Linked DNA regions of Homo sapiens: regions 1 and 3 are each linked to region 2. The links are contacts of gene promoters, found by promoter capture Hi-C in blood cells and fetal thymus (Javierre and others, 2016). All regions are on one chromosome and are shown on one strand. Each heading gives the region's core, a stretch centred on a gene start or on the middle of the fragment in contact. The rest is flanking DNA. Distances are from core to core; before and after follow the strand shown. Region 1 overlaps ABCC6 (ATP binding cassette subfamily C member 6). Region 2 holds the start of ABCC1 (ATP binding cassette subfamily C member 1 (ABCC1 blood group)). Region 3 overlaps MYH11 (myosin heavy chain 11).

What was found. The method cuts DNA at HindIII sites, captures the fragments that hold promoters and counts their contacts. A CHiCAGO score of 5 or more calls a contact.
Region 1: a contact is called between a fragment that was not itself captured here and the fragment with the promoter of ABCC1 in region 2, in 1 of 17 cell types (megakaryocytes). The highest score is 5.4, in megakaryocytes.
Region 3: a fragment that was not itself captured here is called in contact with the fragment with the promoter of ABCC1 in region 2 in 1 of 17 cell types (megakaryocytes); the score reaches 5.4 in megakaryocytes.

The regions. Positions count from the first base shown.
Region 1 is chr16:16,188,345-16,191,272 of GRCh38, reverse strand. ABCC6 (ATP binding cassette subfamily C member 6) reads left to right here. Exons shown (of 31, transcript NM_001171.6): 12 at 906-1,109; 13 at 2,299-2,442. Among named protein-coding and RNA genes, the nearest start is that of ABCC6, 34 kb to the left of the region's middle. The HindIII fragment of the contact is 4,585 bases long and covers 1-2,928 here.
Region 2 is chr16:15,948,366-15,951,371 of GRCh38, reverse strand. It overlaps ABCC1 (ATP binding cassette subfamily C member 1 (ABCC1 blood group)), which reads right to left and starts at 1,756. Exons shown (of 31, transcript NM_004996.4): 1 at 1,573-1,756. The coding sequence starts at 1,620. LOC107984869 (a long non-coding RNA gene) reads left to right here and starts at 2,201. Exons shown (of 3, transcript XR_001752339.2): 1 at 2,201-2,581. The HindIII fragment of the contact is 23,517 bases long and covers 1-3,006 here.
Region 3 is chr16:15,810,028-15,813,298 of GRCh38, reverse strand. The region is part of intron 3 of MYH11 (myosin heavy chain 11); the gene reads left to right. Among named protein-coding and RNA genes, the nearest start is that of MYH11, 45 kb to the left of the region's middle. The HindIII fragment of the contact is 584 bases long and covers 1,536-2,119 here.

The DNA of each region.
Region 1 (2,928 bases), core at 389-2,888, 240 kb before region 2:
GTGGTGGCGGGCGCCTGTAATCCCAGCTACTCGGGAAGCTCAGGCAGGAGAATCGCTTGAACCCAGGAGGCGGAGGTTACAGTGAGCCGAGACCACACCACTGCACTCCAGCCTGGGCGACAGAGGAAGACTCGGTCTCAAAAAGTAAAACCTTCTCCAGGCAGCTGCCCCTCTGATGATGCCCCCCGCCCCATGGTGAAGCACAGGAGACCCTGAATTCTTCTGCCTGACTTTAAAGTGCCAAGTGACCCTGCCCACACGCTCCTCTGGTCACACTGAGTGTCCTCTGAGTCATGCTATTCCCTGTGCCTGGGTTTTAGGTGCCCCCGCCACCCCCCTACCCCCCAGCCCCCACCCCCCACCCCCATCTCAAGCCCCTCCCCTCCCTCTTCTCCAGCTCCATCCCCCCATCCTCTGCCTGCTCAGCACGCACTTCCTGGTCATTTAAGATTTAGCTCAGGCTGTAATCCCAGCATTTTAGGAGGCTGAGGGCAGAGGATCACTTGAGCCCAGGAGCTCGAGGCCAACCTGGGCAACATAGTGAGACCCCAACTCCACAAAAAATGTAAAAGGTAAAAAAAAAAAAAGACGTAGCTCAGGCATCAACCACCTCCAGGTAGCCTTCCTGATGGTGTCATACCCAGGTGGGCTCAGGCTGCCTCTGTTCTCCGGGCATCAGAGGCTTCCTCCATGGGGCACATTATCCCAGGGGCACTCCTGCAGAAGTCCAGGTACAGGATGATGGTGGTTGGACCAGGAGTGAGGGTCAGAGGTGCTGAGAGGCAGACAGGTTTGGGACGCAGTTTGGTGAGATGAATGGGATTTGCTGAAGGGTGGCTGTCAGGGTGCAGGGAAGAGTTCTCAACTGTCCCTGTCTTCATCTCTCTTTTTCCCTCCGATCCCAGGAGGAGCAAATGAGGCAGAAGGACTCACGGGCACGGCTCACCAGCTCTATCCTCAGGAACTCGAAGACCATCAAGTTCCATGGCTGGGAGGGAGCCTTTCTGGACAGAGTCCTGGGCATCCGAGGCCAGGAGCTGGGCGCCTTGCGGACCTCCGGCCTCCTCTTCTCTGTGTCGCTGGTGTCCTTCCAAGTGTCTACATTTCTGGTGACGTCACTCTAGTCTCTATGCTGAGCAGCACTGGGGAAGGAGTGCGGGGGTGGGGGCAGGGTGAGGTAGGTGGAGCCCCCCAGATCCTACCACCCCGTCCATCAAAACCCACTCATTCTGGATCCTGTTCTCTCTGGGTCCCTGCTGTCTTCTACAAGAACTAATTAATCATATTATTCTAGCAAAGGTGGCAGTGGCTGATAAAGTCTGCTGAACTCTCAGAGAGAGTTCCAGGCTTCTACCGATGTGGGGAGGAGGGTACAGATGCAGGGGGGTGGCAGAGGTAGAATCCTGGGTCAGAGTGACTTCCCTGATCCTGGCCAGCAGATGTCCATAGCCACCCTGTCACTGGACGTGATCCTTGTCCTGCCATTCTGTAATTTATTTCATATTGCTGTCAGAACAACCTTCCTAAACCACAGTTTTAAAAAATTTGATACGTAGGCTGGGTGTGGTGGCTCATGCCTGTCGTCCCAATACTTTGGGAGGCCGAGGTGGGTGGATCACCTGAGGTCAGGAGTTCAAGACCAGCCTGGCCAACATGGCGAAACCCTGTCTCTACTAAAAATACAAAAATTAGCTGGTTGCAGTGGCGGGCGCCTGTAATCCCAGCTACTTGGGAGTCTGAGGCAGGAGAATCACTTGAACCCAGGAGGCAGAGGTTGCAGTGAGCCGAGATCATGCCACTGTACTCCAGCCTGGGCGACAGAGCAAGACTTCATCTCAAAAAAAAAAAAAAAAGCACCACAAATGGCACCAACACCTAGAGCCCTCAAGTGCTGCTCCTGCCTGCAACTTTAGAGTCATCTTCCAAGGGACTCTAGAATCACAAGTTCCACCACGTCTAGAACAACAGGGCTACCAAGATCAAAAACTCTGCTGTCCCCCGATGCCTGGAACCTAGAGGCATTAGGTTCTCCCCTAGGTTCTAGTGATGCCTAGAGCCGTGGGGCTGCGCACTCATCACCATTAGCAATGCGCTGTGTCTTTAGAGAGAGCCTTATGTAGCTTATGACTGCGGAGAGGACATGTGTTAGCAGGACTGGGAGTGGGATCTACGGAGGGAAGCACATGCGGACATGGCGGGTGGGCCACATGGACCGTGCAGGCACCACAGCTTGCCCAGGCTGCCCTATCCATGCTTGCGTGTCTCACTGTTGCCCCACGTGTCCCCCCCACCCCCCAGGTCGCACTGGTGGTGTTTGCTGTCCACACTCTGGTGGCCGAGAATGCTATGAATGCAGAGAAAGCCTTTGTGACTCTCACAGTTCTCAACATCCTCAACAAGGCCCAGGCTTTCCTGCCCTTCTCCATCCACTCCCTCGTCCAGGTGAGGTGGGTGCAAGGGCTGGAGCCATCCTGGGAGAGTGCGTGGGCTACACCTGGCTCCAGCTTCCCTACCCCTGCCATTTGCAGAGGAGAGGGAAGACAGAGTGGGAGGGAGAGGGATGGTGTGGAGCTGGAAAAGAGGCGGGTAGGGGCAAGAACAGAGGCGGGCAGAGAGTACAGCAAATACATCTGGAAGGGGTCAGCCTTTGGAGGGCAATGTGCAGACCTTTCCACACACACCTCAGAACATGCATACTTGTCCATCTGCCCAGCAATTCCACATACAAGCAATCATGTCAGTTCCCTTTTTTATACAAAGCGATTTTGTTTCTCTTCCTTTGCTATCTCTAGTCCTTTCAGCATGGTGAAAACAAGAAACGGCGGCATACCTGAGCCATCTCCATGTTTTTTATTTTTTATTTTTATTTATTTATTTATTTGAGATGGAGTCTCACTCTGTCACCCAGGCTGGAGTGCAGTGGTGCAA
Region 2 (3,006 bases), core at 507-3,006:
TCGTGAATGAGTTTCTTAAGATAAACAAAGCGCACCCCAAACATACTCATTAGCCATCAACTACCAATTGCCATCAATAAAATACGTCCTGATACAAAACCTCATGGATGTTCACCCTGTTTTGCCCCCTCCTCAATTCAGAAGAAAATAAACAAGAGAATATTCTGGAATTCACAGCAACACAAACCCAGATCACCATGTGAATCTTTGCAAAAAATAATCTTGCTGTTACTACACCTGGCAACAAGGAAGCCACAGGTTTTCCCCTGCTAAAGAAAGTCCATCTGCAAAGAGGCTCCAATCACCCCCAGACCCTCAAGGCAAAGTCTGTGTTCTATTTCCACCCCTGGGGTTACTCTCCAACCCCACTGGCTTAAAATGGGAGATATATCAAAGTGTGGTAGGTTATTAAACACAATGATACCCTACTAAAAAAAACAAACAAACAAAACCAAACCCTCCAATGGGGCCCTGGAGGATGACTTTTCAACACTCCAAATGCAACCCTCGAGGAAAGGCCGGCAAAACAGGACAAGAAAGTATTTTTGGAAGCTGATCACCAGCTCCTAAGAACCAAGGCTGTTTCTCCTGATTCCTAAACAAAAGAGGAGAGAGAAACAGTCGTGTCCAGATTTGCCTACTGCGTTCACCAACAATCAAGACAGCACGAGACAGAAGTGCCTGCCTTCCTGGAACAAAGAGGCAAATCGCATTACGGAGAAGCTGAAGCCCAAAAGACTGGGGCTTAAACCACAGCAAGTGGACTCCAGACACCCAGTCAGGCTCCGCAGGCCACGTTACAGAAGAAAACTTGCCGGGGTTAAATCTAAGGGGCATCCCCAGAGAGGAGCTCCACGTGTTGCAGGGAAGGGAGGGCAGGACCACAGCTACCAGGGTCCTGGGCGTCCTCAGCTGCACCCCAAGTCTGCCCCGAGCCGAGGGTCAGGTAGGGCACATCAAGGGTGGACATCCCCCTTCTTCCCTGGTTCCCCCAAACTTCCCCCGCAGTATCTAAGTAGAAAGAACAAAAAAAACAAAGCTAGGTAACCACAGAAGAGTAATGTGGCTTGTACGACAACTTTGGGGAGACAATGAAAGTCCCTTTCTACAATCTAAGCCCCTCCCCAGCTCACCCCGTTGGTCACGGAGTATTTTTCGTGAAAAGGGGGGACCCTAACCACAAAAAAGATGGGAAAACAGAAGCAGAGAGACACCCCTCTTCCCGCCCCCCATCTCTAGCGTCCCCTTCCCTGGAAGGTTGTTTTTACAGACGGGAACCCCAAAACAGGAAGGCCTCCTCACGGCGGCTCTGACCCGACCCGACCCTCCAAAACCCCAGGGCTGGGCACGCGGCCCCCCACGCTCTGCTCCGCAGGAACTGAGTCACCCAAGTTTCCCCCATGCCTTGCACCCCCGAAAGGGGCTGGGCCGCGGGCGACGTGAGGGTCCCGGGCCCCCGAGGCCGGCAGCAGAGCGGGGAGCGGGGTGCCCCGGGCGGCTGCGGGCCCGGTGCTTTCCCTCCCCGCCGGCCTCCCTCCGTCCCGCCGGCCTCACGCGGCCCCCGGCACGTACCCAGAGCGGGTCGGAGCCATCGGCGCTGCAGAAGCCCCGGAGCGCCATGCCGGTGGCGCGGGCGGCGGCGGGCACCGGGCGGCGGGTGATCGGGCCCGGTTGCTGGCGCGGGCGGCGGCGGGCACCGGGCGGCGGGTGATCGGGCCCGGCTGCTGGCGCTAGCGCTGGCGGCGGCGGCGGCGGCGGCGCAGGGAGCCGGGGCCGGGGCCGCAACGCCGCCTGGTTGGCCCGCGCGTCACGGGGATGCGGCGGCCCCGCCCCACCCCGCCCCGCCCCGGCGCCCGCTCACCTCGCGCGTCTCGGCGTGGGCAGCCGGACCAGCCACCTCTCGGCGCCCCGGGCCTGGACCCCGCGCCACCCCCACCCCAGATCCTCCAAGGCTTAGGCCCACCCGCTCGCGGACGGGCCTGGGGAGCGTTGGCTCGCCTTCCGGAAGCGCCTGGGATCTTTGGGGCCACACACCCTGCGACCACTTTTCAAATGCTGTTTAAGGACAGTATCCGTCACCAGGGGAAAATAACGTGAACGGAGCCCCCTACCTGCCTGGAGTGTACCGGGCGCCTTAACTGTGCCCTCATTTCATCCTGTAAAGTCTCCACGTTCATGAAGGAAGAAACCCAGGTGCAGAGAGGTTGAGTGATTCCCTCTGCCCAGGGTCACCTGGCTAATCACTTGCAGGGCTGGGATTTGAACCCGGTCCGCTGACTCCAAAGCTGAGTCACACAGAAGGAGGTGAATACTGTTATTCACCTACCTTTTACAGATGGGGAAACTGAGGTTCAGAAAGGCGAAGTGACTTGCCCGAGGTCACACAGTTAATAAGGAGTGAAAGTGGAAGTGAGATTCAAACCCGTGAGCAGCCTGATTCCGGAGCACTGATGACCCAGACGGCGCCAGTCTCCATCACTAACAGCTGTTGACCTCACCTGTGTGCAGAGCGCCTTTGCTTCTTCTCAACCTCTTTAAGCATCACTTAGAAATAACCAGGTTATTGATCCTCACCTCAGAGGTAAGGAAACTGAAGCCTGGAGACATGATAATCGTAGGCCAGGCATGGTGGCTCGTGCTTGTAATCAAGCACTTTGGGAAGCCGAGGCGGGCCGATCACATAAGGTCAGGAGTTCAAGACCAGCCTAGCCAACATAGCAAAACCCTGTCTCTACTAAAAACACAAAAATTAGCCGGGCATGGTGGCGGGCACCTGTAGTCCCAGCTACTTGAGAAGCTGAAACAGGAGAATCACTTGAACCTGGGAGGCGGAGGTTGAAATGAGCTTAGATCACACCACTGCACTCCAGCCTGGGCAACAGAGCAAGACTCTGTCTCAAAAAATAATAATAAAAAAAATTAATATGCATTCACAGTGACAAGGCTTCCTAAGGCTGTGTTCTTAGCAATTTACACAAATTAACTTGTGCAATCCTCACAACCCCA
Region 3 (3,271 bases), core at 578-3,077, 140 kb after region 2:
TAACTCACTGCAGCCTCAAACTCCTGGGTTCAGCAATCCTGCCTCAGCTTCCCAAGTAGCTGAGACTACAGAGATGTACCACCATGCTCAGCTAATTAAAAAAAAACAACTGTTTTTTGTTTGTTTGTTTTGAGACAGAGTTTCACCCCTGTCACCCAGGCTGGAGTGCAATGGCACGATCTCAGCTCACTGCAACCTCCACCTCCTGGGTTCAAGTGATTCTCCTGCCTCAGCCTCCTGAGTAGCTGGGATTACAGGCACATGCCACCATGCCCAGCTAATTTTTGTACTTTTAGTAGAGATGGTGTTTCACCGTGTTGACCAGACTGGTCTTGAACTCCTGACCTCAGGTGATCCACCCACCTTGGCCTTCCAAAGTGCTGGGATTACAGGCATGAGCCACCGTGCCCAGTCTTTTTTATTTTTGAGACAGGTTCTCACTTTGTCACCCAGGCTAGAGTGCAGTGGCACAAACACGGCTCACTGCAGGCTTGACCTCCTAGGCTCCAGTGATCTTCTCACCTCAGCTCCCCAAGTAGCTGGGACTGCAGCCATGCACCACCACACCCGGCTAATTTTTGTATTTTTTGTGGAGACGGGATTTCACCATGTTGCCCAGGCTGGTCTTGAACTCCTGAGCTCAAGTGATCCACCTGCCTAGGCTTCTCAAAGTGCTGGGATTACAGGTGTGAGCCCACTGTGCCTAGTGAAAAAACTTTTTTTTTTTTTTTTTTTTTTTTTTTTTTTAGAGATAAGATCTTACTGTGTTGCCCAGGCTGGTCTCTCATTCCTGGCCTCAAGTGATCCTCCTGCCTTGACCTCCCAAAGTGCTGGGATTATGGGTATGAGCCACCGTGCCCAGCCTAAAGTTGCTATTTTTCCCATGATGTTTATCTTCGTGGTGCTTATGAAATGGCAACTATGGCATTCTTCCTTCTCGTGCATGCCTGTGTGGGTGTGCCCTCAGCATATGCTTACAAGGTTTATTGGGTGATCCAACGCTAGCCGCAAGAGCTATTATTAGCTCCCTTTTACAGCTGGGAAAACAGACTCAGAGGAGTGGAGAACTTGCTGCAGATTTGTTAAGTGTCAGAGCCAAATATACACTTGGATTATCCTGACTCCAAAGCCGGAGCCCTGCTGGTCAGTCGGTGACACCGGGCAACCACAGGGATCCCCCTCAATCCCACGGAAGGCTGTCTACTGTCTTCATCTCAGAGTGTTGACAGCTCAAAGCTTAGGAGGCTGGAGCTAAGTTCAATAAATGAACGTGATGAATAGGAGAAAAGCGCCATTAAAGCCCTCCAGACAAGAACCACTTTGGAGCCCCTCCATGGGTCCCTGGGGTGTAGGAGGGGCAGGAAAGCAGATAAGATTCCATTCTGAGCCTCTGCACTTGCCCTATGCAAGATAGCCACAAGTAATGTTTTGTCCTCACCTCATTAGCAACAAATGGCCACACTCAGGGGATTAAAAAAAGAAATAACAGCCAGCCTTTATCAGCTTGGGGCTCTTGGCTAATTCCTCTTTAAGCTTAAGACAACTCTGCGGGTGGAGTGATCCAAACGACTTTCTCCACTTTGCAAGTTCCCACACTCGGCTGTATCCTTCTGCTTGAGATTGGCAGCCCCCTGGGGATGGTTCCTGCTCACCCAACTCCCCTGAGGCTGCTCCCCAGTAGAGGCAGAGAGAGGAAGGGCACTGATGTCCTCAGGGCCCCTGCAATAGGTCAGGACCTGGGTTCACTGCTCCATCAATCCCACATTGCTCGGCCCTCACTAGCACCACACAGGGTGGGTGGCAGCCTCCCCATTTGATCAATGGGGAAAACTCAGCACACCTACTTGGCCCCAGAACTGAGAGTCAAACCTGGGGACCCAGCTTCGCTGCCCTCAGAATGTTACTCTTCCCTCCTGGGTAGCGTGGTATAGATAGTGTAGTATTCTTGTCCCCATATAACGGAAGAGGAAACTGAGGCCCCCAGAAGGCTAAGGGACTAGCATAGGCCTTGTGTCTTAGCCTGTTAAGGCTGCTATATCAAAATACCATAGACTGGGTGGCTTTTAAACAGATATTTGTTTCTCGTGGTTCTGGAGGCTGGGAAGTCCAAGATCAAGCTTGGTATCTGGTGAGGGCCTAGTGCTGCCTTCTCGCTGTGTCTCACATGGTGGAAGGGACCTGCTAGCTCTCTGGGTCTCTCCCCCAATGAGGATTGAACCCCCATGATCTCATCACCTCCCAAAGGCCCCACCTCCTAATATCATCACTTTAGGGGTAAGGATTCCAGCATATGAATTTGAGGGAGACATGAGCATTCAGACCATGACACCTTGTAATCAGAAAGGGGTTAAATATCTTTGGTTGAATATCCTGTCCTGCCGATTCAGAATCACTGCTGTCTATAACCTCTTCCCTAGATCACTGTTTTAGATGATGATGATAAAGATGATATTAACGGCAATTACCAAGCTCTTAAATGTGCTGTGGGTAAAACAATTTTAAGCTCTTTCTGAATCCAGTCTCTTTCAATCATCTTCATGCCCTTGAAAGGTCTGGATTTTTGTCGATTTCCCTGGTGAGGAAACGGGCCCTGGGGGCAGAGGTGATAGGGTGGAGCCAAGAAGTAATTCCCAGCTGTTTCTCTGCAGAGGCAGTGCTGCTACAAACACATCTCCAGGAAGGGGTACAGCCAAATGCTTCTCTGTCTCTTGTGGGTTTTGCAGTGGCTGTCAGCTATGTGTCTGGCCCGGTTGGGAATGATGGGGGACTGTGTGTGGGAATGAATGGCTCTGTCTGGCTGGCTCAGTCTTTACAGAGGTGCTAGGAGTGTCTGTTTGGTGCTCTGACTAATCATGAAAAGTTCACGTTTTTATCTTTATTTTATTTTTATTTTTGGTACCCATGGTGCATTACAGGGAAGGGAGACAGCAAAGGAGAATTATTTGTTATAAAATAGTAAATATTGGCCAGGCACAGTGGTTCACACCTGTAATCTCAGCACTTTGGGAGGCAGAGGCAGGCAGATCATCTGAGGTCAGGAGTTCGAGACCAGCCTGGCCAATGTAGTGAAACCCCATCTCTACTAAAAATACAAAAAATTAGCCAGGCATGGTGGTGGGCGACTATAATCCCAGCTACTCGGGAGGCTGAGGCAGGAGAATCGCTTGAACCTGGGAGGTAGAGGTTGCAGTGAGCCGAGATTGCCCCACTGCACTCCAGCCTGGGCAACAAGAGCAAAACTCCGTCTCAAAAAAAAACAAAAACAAAAACA